Regions from separate parts of the Homo sapiens genome. Here region 2 is linked to region 1. Evidence: promoter capture Hi-C in 16 types of primary human blood cells and fetal thymus (Javierre and others, 2016). All regions are on one chromosome and are shown on one strand. Each heading gives the region's core, a stretch centred on a gene start or on the middle of the fragment in contact. The rest is flanking DNA. Distances are from core to core; before and after follow the strand shown.

What was found. Contacts are between HindIII fragments. The CHiCAGO score rates a contact against its expected background, and 5 or more counts as called.
Region 2: a fragment that was not itself captured here is called in contact with the fragment with the promoter of ACAD11 in region 1 in 5 of 17 cell types (total CD4 T cells, total CD8 T cells, fetal thymus and 2 more); the score reaches 8.5 in total CD4 T cells.

Annotation. Positions count from the first base shown.
Region 1 is chr3:132,657,402-132,663,898 of GRCh38, forward strand. ACAD11 (acyl-CoA dehydrogenase family member 11) reads right to left here and starts at 2,408. Exons shown (of 20, transcript NM_032169.5): 1 at 2,202-2,408. The coding sequence starts at 2,350. UBA5 (ubiquitin like modifier activating enzyme 5) reads left to right here and starts at 2,928. Exons shown (of 12, transcript NM_024818.6): 1 at 2,928-3,297. The coding sequence starts at 3,137. The region is part of intron 26 of NPHP3-ACAD11 (NPHP3-ACAD11 readthrough (NMD candidate)); the gene reads right to left. RefSeq lists enhancers at 2,710-3,248, 2,784-2,873, 3,244-3,523. The HindIII fragment of the contact is 2,892 bases long and covers 922-3,813 here.
Region 2 is chr3:133,437,314-133,443,982 of GRCh38, forward strand. The region is part of intron 1 of BFSP2 (beaded filament structural protein 2); the gene reads left to right. It overlaps BFSP2-AS1 (BFSP2 antisense RNA 1), which reads right to left. Exons shown (of 4, transcript NR_189064.1): 3 at 85-182. Among named protein-coding and RNA genes, the nearest start is that of BFSP2, 41 kb to the left of the region's middle. RefSeq lists an enhancer at 4,645-4,924. The HindIII fragment of the contact is 5,917 bases long and covers 1-4,497 here.

The DNA.
Region 1 (6,497 bases), core at 1,158-3,657:
TTTCTGCTATCCTTAGCCCTTCGCTCTTACACATAAAATTTAGGAGCACTTTTTCAAATTAGAGAAAAAAATTAGGATTTTGATTGTCATTGCTTTGAATCAATAGATCAACTGGAAGAAAAAAGTTTGCAATATTGAATATTCCTATTCAACAACATGGCATCTCTCAATTTTTAAAATTCTTTTTAAGGTCCTAATAAAAGTTTTATCATTTCTCTACAAAGGTATTGCACATCTTTTACTTAGGTAATTTATATTTTTGATGCTCCTGTAAGTTTTTGAAAATTACATTTTAACTGTTGCTAAAGTAGAGAAATGCAGTTGATTTCTGTACACTGAACTTTGATAGTCTTTTACTGTCTATGTAGATTATTGGCTCTTTAATCCATGAATCACTTAATTTATAAACATGTATTTGTTAGCTATCTTCTGTTAAACTTTTGGTATTAAAAAAACACATATTCCTTTTTTTTTTTTTTTTTTTTGAGTCTCACTCTGTCACCTAGGCTGGAGCATGGTGGTGCAATCTTGGCTCACTGCAACCTCCCTCTCCTGGTTCAAGCGATTCTCCTGCCTCAGCATCCCAAGTAGCTGGGACTACAGGCACGTGCCACCACGCCCGGCTAATTTTTGTATCTTTAGTAGAGATGGGGGTTTCACCATGTTGGCCAGGCTGGTCTTGAACTCCTGACCTCAAGTGATCCACGTGCCTCGGCCTCCCAAAGTGCTGGGATTACAAGTGTGAGTCACTGCACCTGGCCAAAACACACATTTTCAAAATATAAAGATTGATTCTTTTGAGTTTCTGAGACTTCCTTCATGGCCTATGTGTTTTCAATTTTTATAAACTTTTTCATGTGTCCTAGAAATGAATGTGTGTTCTCTGTGGGATCCAGAGTTCCATATATATTTATTAAACCAAGCTTATACAACATTTCTGGAAGCAATTTTTATACCACAACTAATTTACAACTAATTTCATTTTTTGAACACGGTTATGGTTTAACATTCAGCTTGGTTCAGAATTAAGTATCTTTCAGTTATGTACCTCTTCAACACTCCTACAATATGAACGTTACTATCTCCTTTTTGCCAAAGCAGGACTAGATGTTCAAAGGGTAACTTGTCCAAATTCCACAGCAATTGAAATAGTTGAAATTTGAACTTTGATCTGTTTCAGTTTGTTACAACACAAGGCTTCTAGCCTAGAAATCTCAGCTATTCTTTATTCCACCTTTCCCTTCATCTTCCAATATCTATTGGGACATGGGACCTTTAAATTCTACACCCTAAAATGTTCCCTGATCCATCTCATTTATTATTATTTTCATTTTCACCAAAATCAGTAGTCAAAGAATATAAATGCTAGTGATAAAATACCACTAGCACACTATGTTGTTGCAATTTTTACGCCCTTTCACCTATATTACGGTATTTCATTTCATTAATAAGACTAATCAAAATAGGTATTACAACTTAGGAAACTAGTTCTCAGAGTGTTTATGTAACATATTTAAACTCCCAGACAGCAAGTGACAGATCCAGTTTTCTGAATGATAGGACTCTTTCTGTAGCCCTGTATTAGTAACAATGTTATTTTTAGAATAAAGTTTTAAGAATGTATTATCTATTGTAAAACATCAGACTAAAGCCAGATTCCCGGTGGGGAACGCTACTCTCAGGATCCTCTCACTCAGTTCCATTACCTCACTTCAAAAAACCTGAGGCCCAAAGTGGTGCTGTGACCTCCTAAGTGGAAAAGCTAGTACTCGAATTCGGATCCTCCATCTGGTGTCATTAACTCAGCCTCCCGGAATACGGCCAATCAAACGGAATTACACCAGCTTCTCAGAAAAAGATCTAATGGCTGTATCACAAAAGAAGGCATCTATTTCTCAGAATTTGTAGCCTTAATTGCCTTGGTGAATCCTCAAGGGACATAAATCCATCCTTTAACAAAGATTCCTTTGGATAGTAGAATGGTGAACGTTATTGCGCTTCCATTACCGCCCTCCAATTGGGAAGCCCCCAGCATCGAATTCGGAGGGCCGGCAATAGCAGCTCATGCCTGTAGGGTGCGTCCACTGACTGCAGGAAAAGCAATCAGGGTGGGAGAAACTTAGGAAACCACCCAGGGCCAAAGGAAGGAAAACTCAATGTACAAATTTTTTTCCGCTGGAGGCAAAGGCTGACATCCATACCTGTACTGGGCAATGGTCAGCGTAGCCTCACGTTCGGCCCCAAAGCCAGACAAGTGCTGGTTTAGGTAGGCCTCCAGGGACTTGCTGTCGAACTTGTGCTGGGGCAGCACTTCGGCCAAATCGGACTCGCCAGTAGCACCTGGCTTCATGATCACCCCCGCAGGCCACAGCAACGCGGCATCCACAGGTCTCGAGTGCCGAAGTCCTTCAGGATTGGGGCAACGTCCCCTCTAGAGCATGGGCCGAGGCCGGGGTGGGGTCTGGCTCCAGCCAACCGCACACAGCCTACGCGCCGTTGCTGAGCAACGCTTGCCCGCTGAATCCCGAGGTTTTAGCTCTAGTCAAGTGCCAAAAGAGCCCAATGTGTGTTCGGGTTTCAATTCTCCAGTCAGCGTCAGAGTTGGAGGCCTCAATTTTAAAGAAGGCAAAGCCATGGTCATCGTTGCGGGTAAGGAACAACGCAGAAGCCTCTTCCACCCCCAAATTTAATGCAACAGCAGGCGGAAGACCTGCAGGGTCCCGTTCAGAAAAAGGGCCGTCAGACTGTCGAGCCTAAGAATAAAAAGACCCTGTTTCTCTTAGATACCCGGTTAGCAAGGCAACATCGCTGGCCTCCTGCCCTGGACACTTATCACCCCGGTGCTGCTGCGGCCGGGTTTAGCCGGCCCAGCGAGGAAGGAAGCCGAAAGAGCCAGGTTTTTGATGAGGGGGAGCGATGTCTGCGACGCACCGGAAGCGGCTCCGAGGAAGGCCTGTGGGAGTCTCGGAGACGTGTCTGTCTGTGAGGCGCTGGGTGCACGTCCCCAGGGCTCTGGGCTAGGAAGGCAGCGGCGAGGTGCCTCCCCACGTACCCCTCGCGGGCCCAGCCGAGCAACGTGGGGCGAAGGCGGCGGCGAAGGCCCGGGCTGGGAGCGTTGGCGGCCGGAGTCCCAGCCATGGCGGAGTCTGTGGAGCGCCTGCAGCAGCGGGTCCAGGAGCTGGAGCGGGAACTTGCCCAGGAGAGGAGTCTGCAGGTCCCGAGGAGCGGCGACGGAGGGGGCGGCCGGGTCCGCATCGAGAAGATGAGCTCAGAGGTGGTGGATTCGAATCCCTACAGGTAACCTGCGTCGCCGGTCGGAGGCAGGCGCGGGGGACGAGGTCAGGCTCCGTGAGGTCAGAAGTGAGGCGCTTCCCACGTCCCGCTCATGGGGACGCCCGCCACCCTTTTCTTGGTCTGCGAATCCTGTTCCCAAATGGGCAAGGCCACATCTTAGTACTGATCGGAAGATATTCTTTCTCTTTTTTAAAAACCTCCAGTGAGTCAGCCATATGGTGCTGCTCCTGTGCCTGCTGAGGACGTGTGTCCAGTTTCCTATCACCCTTGCCTCTTAATTAGTCCGCCTCGCTGTGTATAAGACTGATAGTAAGAACTTTCAGAAGATGAGATCAAATATTAAACCTGCTAAGGTAAACTTTGAGTTTCATTAAAGGCTTATCAATGCATCTTAAATGGGGTCGGGGCGGGGGAGAGCGGGGTTAGCTCTATTCTGAGATATTCGGGTGCTCCTTAACATCTCAAACCATTCGACATTACCAAGACTGCCCAGGCCTCTCTTTTCTTCTTTCCTAACAAAGCTTATCAATTCAGCAGATGGAATATAGTGCAATGGTTAAGGGTAAGGACTCTACCGCCAGACTGATTGCAATTCAAATCTAACTACTCTCTTCGTAACTGCCTAACCTTTGGCAAGTTGTGAAACTTTCCGCTTCAGCTTCTCACCTGTACAATGAAGATAATAGTAATATCTATCTCTGTCATAGTTGTGGGGATTGAAAAAATCAGTATGTATAAAGGTCTTAGAGTAGCGCTTGTACATGGCAAGCCTTATACAAGATTTTATTGCTAGGTGCATTTAGTAGCAAGCAGTTATTGAGCTTTCACTGTGTAAGCACTTTACATGCATTGTCTCCTCCCACCAAAACCCTATGAGATTGCTACTATTTTACCCCCATTATATAAGTGAGAAAATTGAGGCTTAGAGAGCCACCTCAGGTTCATGCCTTGGTAGTAAATAATAAGGCCTGTCTTGCATTAGATTTGTCTTAATGTAAAATTCTCATGAACCGTCTCCCCAGTAAAAACAATTAAGTCGTGTAGCTAAAAATTGTATAGTGTTAAAGTAGATAAGGAAGATTTTATTGTTGCTTTTTTCCTTTAAAGAGCATAACAGTTTTGATTTTTAAAAAAGGTTTTAGTTTGTGATATATAAAGCCGCAGTAGAAGTCTTAGGGTGCACTGTTTTAACTGTGTTGCCAAATATGAACGGTTAATGGTCCAGAATTTTTAGAGATTAAATAAGCATGAACTGACATCTCTAATCAGAATAAGTGGAAACTATTTGACATTTTTAAAACATTTTAAAATTTTACAAATGAAGACTTTGAAATTTTCCCTCCAGAATGAAAAGCAGAGGAATATGGGTCATGAATTTAAGTTGTCTTTCAGACATTATTTAATATGAGATGATCCCTTGACATTGTAATTATAACAAAACTTTCAGAACTCAAGTCTAAATATGTAGTATTTTCTATCTGATTTGCACCATTGACTTTATTAAAATTGCTATACAGGAGATGGCAGTTTGATACCCAAAGCTGTTCACTGATATATGGAATTTTAATAAAGTTCAGCTTTAATTTTTTGAATTGTTCATACAGCAAATATTTACTGAGTACATTTTTGTCTCCAGTCCTCCTTGACAATATTATTTACTTTGTATTGAGTACTTATTGTGTGCAGACACTGTGAATATAAAGTAGACATGGTCTTTTCCCTCTAGAGCTTACCAGATGAGTGTGAGATAAATAGAAAAGTAAACATGCCATTGCAGTACAGGTGATAAGAATTATGATAAAGTACAGTGTTATTATTGATAAAGTACAGGTTATTGAATTATGATAAAGTACAAAAGGTTATAGGAAAGGGATATGTATGTGTTCAACACCATTTTAATTGCTTCAAGAGATACAAAAGAAATATAAAGCACCTGACTTTTGCTTCAGTTTGAGAGACTACATGGAGGTGGGATATTAAAAAACACAAGTAACCGTAAAATTATGTGTTATGGAATATAGTTATAAGCATGTGGAAAAATTGGAGAGGCTTTGAGATTAGAAAACCTGGTATCAAATCCTGGCTCAGAAACCCAGCTCAGAATACCACTTGCCAGTTAGCTGATTTTGGGCAGTTGATTAACCCAAACCGTTTCCCTCATCTGTAAAAGGGGGTTGCCATCCATGCTTCTCAGATTATTTAAAGATTGAAGGGAGCATCAAGGTAAGGATAGCAAATTCCTGTGATGGATCTGCCATCACTTTCTACCCAACCTCACTAAAGTGACAGTAAAGGAATTTTTTAAAAGAAACTCCCATTGAAAATATAAAGGGTTCGTATTAATAACTGATAGGGAGGGGTGGGTCCCTGTACTTGATTATAGTAACAATTTGGAAACTAGAGAAGGGATGGGTGAAGGTAACTGATTTAATAGATTCAGAGAAGTTTAATCTTAAGCTCGCAACCCAGTTTATTGCAAGAATCCCCCAAAAGGCTCAGGAATAGGCACAGGTACTTGCAGAACTTCAGGTAGGGCTAAAAAAAACTTTCAGTTGAAAATCTGTTGAAGAAACAAAAGCCCCAGATCCCCTACTCCACTGTGGGTAACTGGGCAAACACTCCTTCCCTACCAGAAGAGGAGAGTAGAGATTTCTTCATTAGAAAGAGTAAAATAGAAGATTTCCAAGAATAATTGGGGCAGGTCTTTGTACCTGAAGGAAGGGGTAAACTGATTGTTTACATGCTGAATGCTGTGACTGAATGTAAACTAAATGCTTACATACTGAGTGTCGAGACTCCCAGCCTTGCTTCTTCACTTCCAACAGCTGATCGTGGGGTTGGAACTCCAACTCAGGTTGGAGTTTGAAAGATTATTCTCTAGGGAATCTGATAGAGCCAAGAGGAAAGACTGAAAGACACTGACATTGTGGGTTTCTCAACTAAATAGTCTGGCCAGATGACCCTACAGTGAAGTCCAAAGTCAAACAGTTATTGCCTATATTGTTACCTTTATTAGTGTCCCACACTTAAATATGAACAGAACAAAGGATGAAAGAAACTTCTAACATGAAAGAAATAAAAATAGCAACTTGGATAGACTATGTAAGATAAACACATCCCCCTAAATTATCATTAGTATCCTTAGATGAGAGAAGATATGGTACAAATGATACAGGAACAAGGTGCAAAGTATTTAGATGATC
Region 2 (6,669 bases), core at 289-2,788, 780 kb after region 1:
GGAAGTTCGAGACCAGCCTGACCGACATGGAGAAACCCTGTCTCTACTAAAAATACAAAATTAGCCGGGCATGGTGGCACATACCTGTAATCCCAGCTACCCAGGAGGCTGAGGCAGGAGAATTGCTTGAACCCAGGAGGTGGAGGTTGCGGCGAGCCGAGATCACGCCATTGCACTCCAGCCTGGGCAACAAGAGCGAAACTCAGTCTCAAAAAACAAAACAAACAAACAAAAACCAAAAAAATGAAAACAAACGAAAGGAAGGAAAGAAGGAAGGAAGGAAGGAGAAGAAAGAAAAAAGAAAGAAGAAAGAGAAAAAGAAAGAAGAGAGAGAGAAAGGAAGAAAGAAAGAAAGAAAGAAAAAGAAAGAAAAAGGAACTGAGCTATTTAACATTAGAACCATGATTCAAACATGGGGGTAATGGAAGATGGCTGAGCATGGGTTTTACAGGCCTGCCCTGGAGAGGGAGCACCGTGAAAAATAATCAAATAGCTGGCATTATTCTGCAGGCCTGAGAATGCTCAGTGGGGAAGCAAAACAATGATTTGGCTACCCGCCCATAGCTTCTGACAGCCAGGGGCACCTACATCGTAATTCTTAGCAGAAAGGACCTATATTTCACAGAAGCATCAGCAGAGTAGCATAGTAATTAAACTGATTTTTTGTCTTCCGTTTTGACCTTAGAAAATAAAACATCTGAGATTATAAGAGAGAAAGTGTGAGTATGAGGAGGAAACTGTCTATAGTTGATACAAGAAATAGAGTTCTATTATTTAAAGTGATCAAAACAGCCAGTAAAGGGAAAGGGAGGTGGAGGGTGAGTAAGTTAAATATTCATTTGTCAGCTAGAAGTCAGTAAACGATGTCTGTGGCAGATAACTTGAGCAATCAAGAAATATGTGGGCAGGCTCTGGATGAAAGAAACAGTAAGGCCAGGCACGGTGGCTCATGCCTTTAATCCCAGCACTTTGGGAGGCCAAGGCAGGCGGATCACCTGAGGTTGGGAGTTCGAGACCAGCCTGGCCAACATGGTGAAACCCCATCTCTACTAAAAATACAAAATTACAAAAATTAGCTGGGTGTGGTGGCACATGCCTTTAATCCCAGCTACTCAGGAGGCTGAGGCAGGAGAATCTCTGGAACCTGGGAGGCAGAGGTTGCAGTGAGCTGAGATCACACCACTGCACTCCAGCCTGGGTGGCAGAGTGGGACTCCATCTCAGAAACAAAACAAAAAAAGAAAAAAGAAAAGGTGAAAGTGCTGACAGCAGGGTGCGGGGAGAGGAAAGTGTGGGTCAGGGAAATGTTGGTCTCTAGAAGGTCTTCAGTGCTGTTTAACTTTTTAAATCAGGTGATAATTAAATTATCACTTGAATAATTTTAAAATTAAAATAGAAGAACTACAAAATAGAGCAAGGACTACTGAAATATTTACAGATTTTCCAAGTGATATATGCATAATAGCCTCCCAGATGGGGTGGAAGCTGGTAGGTAGAGATTGTAAAATTTAGCCATGATACTTCAATTGCTGAAGTGGAGGGATGGGGGGGTCATTATTCTAGACTCTTTCTACCTTTATATATAGTTATACATAGTTGAAATTTCCCATAGTTAAAAGGATATTTTTTAAAACAAGCACAGTCTGTGAGGTCAGACAGGTGTGAGTTAAGTTCTAGCTGAGCCACTTAGCAATGTGGGCAAGTTACTTAAACTCTCTGAGACTGAGTTTCCTCATCACATAATGGAAGTAACTGCTGTTCACCCACTTAGTGTGACCACTTACTTCAGATGTAGGGATGAAATGAGATTATGCCTGTGAAGGGCTGACTGTGGCATAAGTGTAGTAAGTGCTTTAAAAAATATTTTGGTTTGGTCTGTTTTGTTGCTTCTATGCGGGGTTTTTATAAAGAAGGTTTGGCTGTAAAATGTGAATTCTGCTTCTCAGGCATCTTATATTTGTTCTGTACCTCTATTTTCTGCCTTATGTGTTTGCTGTTGTTTAGTGTTATATTTCTCTCCTCAGCTAGCTTGCTTAGTCTATTCTGTTAACAAACATTTATTGAGCACCTATGTGCCAGGCACTGAACTGGGTGCTAAGGAAGCAGAGATGAGAGACTGTCCCTGATCCAAGGTCACACAAATCAGTGATGGAGAAAGGCAGGAAAAGATCAGAATAACATGCAGCATAAAAACTGCAGAGATTGATATACCACAGTGAGTATGGGGAGTACTGAGGATACCTAGCACAGCCTGAGCCAGGGTTTGAAGGATGGATAGGAGTTCACCAGACAAAGGAAAGTAGGAGGCAGTCTGCCATGACATGCCGAGGTAGCAGCAGGAGTCAAGGTCTGGAAGCTAGAAAGGCCTGAGTCTGTTCAGAAAAGTAACTCAGTTCATGGTTGGGGAGTGAGGGAAAAATAAAACTAGACTGAAGAGCAAGGTCCAAATTGTGCCCCAGGCTACAGACTTCATAGGACAAGGGGACATGGGAAGGTTCATTCCGGAGCACAGCTTCAAATAAAACATGAGTTCAAAACATGAGTTCCAATCTGCATCTGAGTAAGTTCATTCCAGTAGAAAGGGAGAGGGTGAGAGGTTAGAAAGCAGAGACAGACAGAGAGAGAGAGAGAGAAAGCAATGTCACAGAGGGAGTATAAGTCCATTTTCCTACTGCTGTGAAGAAATACCTGAGACTGGGTAATTCATAAAGAAAAAAGGTTTAATGAACCCACAGTTCCCCACGGCTGGGGAGGCCTCACAATCATGGCAGAAGGCAAAGGAGGAGCAAAGGCACATCTTACATGGTGGCAGGCAAGAGACCATGTGCAGGGGAACTTCCCTTTATAAAGCCATCAGATTGTGTGAGACTTACTATCTTACTATCATGAGAATAGCACGGGAAAACCTACCCCCATGATTCAATGATTCAATTATCTCCCACCAGGTCCCTCCCACAACACGTGGGGATTATGGGAGCTACAATTCAAGATGAGATTTGGGTGGGGATACAACCAACCATATCAGCAGGAGATGCTGGCTGTCTAAATAGATCCCCGTCAGAATCACTGTATCTGGATGTGCCTGGGGCTCAAAATTTGATTTTGTTGGGGCATCTGGAGAAAATTAAGCCCTAAAGGGCTGTCTCACAACAAACTCATCTGACATAAACAACCAGGACTGTGTTATAAATGGTAGGGTTTAAACCCTATATATGGTAGGGGTTAAACCTCTTTAGTGACCAGCACTGATGCCTACTATCCAAAGCAAGCCCTCGTATTTCTGAGGTTGCTGGAGGTGGAAGTCTAGGTGGGCCCAGAATCAGAACTTGGGGGGACAGAGAGGCTTCCAGGGAAAGAGGAGCCTAAAACACTTTGTCCTCAGCATGACAGACTTCTAGGGGCCAAGGTGATCCTGTTTGCCCAACAATGGCAAATAAACCCCGGCCAGCAGTTCTAGCTTCTCACTGCATGCTCATCTGGCCCCTCTACAATGACGTTCCTTCCCAGCCACAGCATAGTCTGATGAAGTCAGGGTTTATTTACAGTACAGGCTCAGAAGTGTATTGTGGCTTCCAGAGTGAAATCCAACCTTAGCCCTCAGATGTCTCTCATTCTCCTTGGACACCCAGTGGCTGTGACTGTGCTTGTGAGTGAACTGTCTCAAGAGATGGCTAGACTTCTCCATTACTTGAAGACATTTCCCCTAAATTCACTTTCAGATGCAATCTTTTTTTTTTTTTTTTTTTGAGGGAGTTTTGCTCTTGTTGCCCAGGCTAGAGTGCAATGGCGCCATCTCGGCTCACTGCAACCTCCGCCTCCCAGGTTCAAGCAATTCTCCTGCCTCAACCTCCTGAGTAGCTGGGATTACAGGCACACCCACGCCGGGCTAATTTTTGTATTTTTAGTAGAGACTGGGTTTTGCCATGTTGGCCAGGCTGGTCTCGAACTCCTGACCTCAGGTGATCCGTCTGCCTGGGCCTCCCAAAGTGCTAGGATTATACTTCGTAATCCCCTGAGCCACTGGTGTGAGCCCCTGCACTCGGCCTCAGATGCAATCTTAACTCACTGTGCTTGGGCTTCTTAGTTTTTGTCCCCAGGTAACAACTATCAGGTTAAACCAGAAAAGAGATGATTAGGACTTGAACCAAGCTGGATAATGGAGTGGGAATGGATTTGGGCACATCTACTTGGGGAATTGTTGGTTTTTGACTTGGGGGATGAGGAAGAGAGAGATGTTTAAGGTGATTCTCAGGTTGGAGCTAGGTAAGAACCTGGCTGTTCCCTGAGGGTAGGCACTGGGTCTTCCCTGCTTGGGTTCTCCATAAAGAGGTAGCACTACTGCTGGGCTCATTAATTCAACTAATACCTGCTGTACCAGACACTGTGCTAGGGATGGAACAACAAACAGGACAGAAAGGCAGTGCCTGACTTCCAGGAGGTTATATTCTAGCAGAAAATACAGATAAAATAATTTAAAAACCATAAAATTGATAATACAAGCTTTGGTAAGTGTTTTAAAGAAAACTAACAAAGCAGAAAGGGGCAGAGTAAAGGGAAGCACTGCTCGCAGTAAGGTGACCAGAATGAGGGAGCTATTCATGCAAAGGGGAAGGGAGGAGTGGGCCAGGCAGGGGAGTCGGCAAGTGCTAGGGCCTTGAGCAGGAGAGGGACTGGTATGGTCCAGAAAGACCAAGACCCACATGGCTGGAGCCTTTGGAGCAATGGAAGAGTAACAAGCATGCAGGGCCTTGAAGGCCACTTCAGAAGACTGGGTTTTACTCTAAGTATAAGAGACACTTCTATAGAGTTTTGTTTTGTTTTGTGTGTTGTTTTTGTTCTGAGATGGGCTTTCACTTTCACTCTGTCTCTCAGGCTGGAGTGCAGTGGTGCAATCATAGCTCACTGCAGCCTCGACCTCCTGGCCTCAAGAGATCCTCCCACATCAGTCTCCCAAGTAGCTGGACTGTGGGTGCACATCATGACACCTGGATAAATTCTGTTTTTTTGTTTTGTTTTGTTTTTTGGAGAGATAGGGTTTTGCTATGTTGCCCAGGCTGGTCTCAAACTTCTAGGCTCAAGCAATCCACCCACCCTGTCCTCCCAAAGTGCTGGGCTTATAGGCGTGAACCACCACACCTAGCCCCTCTGAAGAGTTTTAATTTAGTTTAATCAGAGTGACATGATATGATTTTAAGAGTTTAAAAAGCCCACTCTGGAAGCAGGATGCAGAATGCATTGGAGGAGGGAGGTACAGATCAGGGAGTTGGAAGGATATTACAATGGGATATTATAATGGGATAGGAGAGCATGATGGGGACTTGCACTAGGGTGATGTCAAGAGAGGTAGAGAGAAATAAATGGATTTGAGATACATTGTGGGGGTAGAATTGACTAGACTCAGTGATAAATGAGATGTGGGAGATGACAGAAAGTGAGAGATCAAGATGATCCCTTGGTTTCCGGGTAGACATTGGGGTTGTTTACTGAGATGAAGAGGATCAAGGGGTGGTGGGGAAAGGGAAGATTTGTGGGGAAATTATCTAGATTTTCTTTTTTTTTTTTTTAATGGATTTTCACTCTTGTTGCCCAGGCTGGAGTGCAGTGGTGCGATCTCAGCTCACTGCTACCTCTGCCTCCTGGGTTCAAGCCATGATCCTGCCTCAGCCTCCTAAATAGCTGGAATTACAGGTGCGTGCAACCACGCCCAGCTAATTTTTTGTATTTTTAGTAGAGGCAGGGGTTTCACTATGTTGGCCAGGCTGGTCTGGAACAACTGACCTCAGGTAATCCACCCACCTCAGCCTCCCAAAGTGCTGGGATTCCAGGCGTGAGCCACCGCACCCGGCCAAAATTATCTAGATTTTCATTCGGGGACATGTTAAGTTTGAGATGTCTGAGAAATAGCCAAGTGAAGACCTCAAAGAGAGGGTGAGTATGCAAGTGTGGAGCTGAGCAGAAAGTTCTGAGATAGACATTTAAATGTGAAAGTCATTAGCACATACAATGCCATTTAAATCTGTGTGGATAGATCAGACCATTTAGTGATTAAAAAAAAGAAGCACCAAGACCCAATCTTGAAAAACTTTAACATTTAGAGGTCAGATAAGGAAGAAAAACCTGGTGAAGCAGAGAATAATAAGAAAGAATGGTCAATGAAGTAGGAGGAAGTCCAGAGAGAGTGGTGTCATGGAAGCCGAGACAGAAAAGTACATCTGTGACAAATGCAACCAGCAGGTCAATATGAGCACAGAGAAGCATCTGCCGGGCTTGGTAATACGGTGGCCTTGTTATTAAGAGCAGTATCACTGGGGTGCTAGGGACTGAGAATTATTTCTCATTCCTTTATTGCTAGAAGCAAGTTATGCTGAACATCCATCCTAAACTTGAAAGTCAAATAAATGTGGGAAGGGTTTCCAAGGGAATCTTGCATCTTGCCACTGCACCAGCTGAGTTTAATTTCCCAGGAGCTCAGTCTTACCCACCTCCTCCCCACACCTGCAGCTCTAGCTGCCAGAATGCCAATATCTTTACTCCAAACAAACCATTCATTGTACCCTTGGGCCCAAATGATAACCTTTTTTAAAACGCTGCTTGTATTTGCCTTTCCTTTAACACAATGATGGTCAAATCTCTCATCCACCACCACCAGCTCATTTATTTTAATAACTAC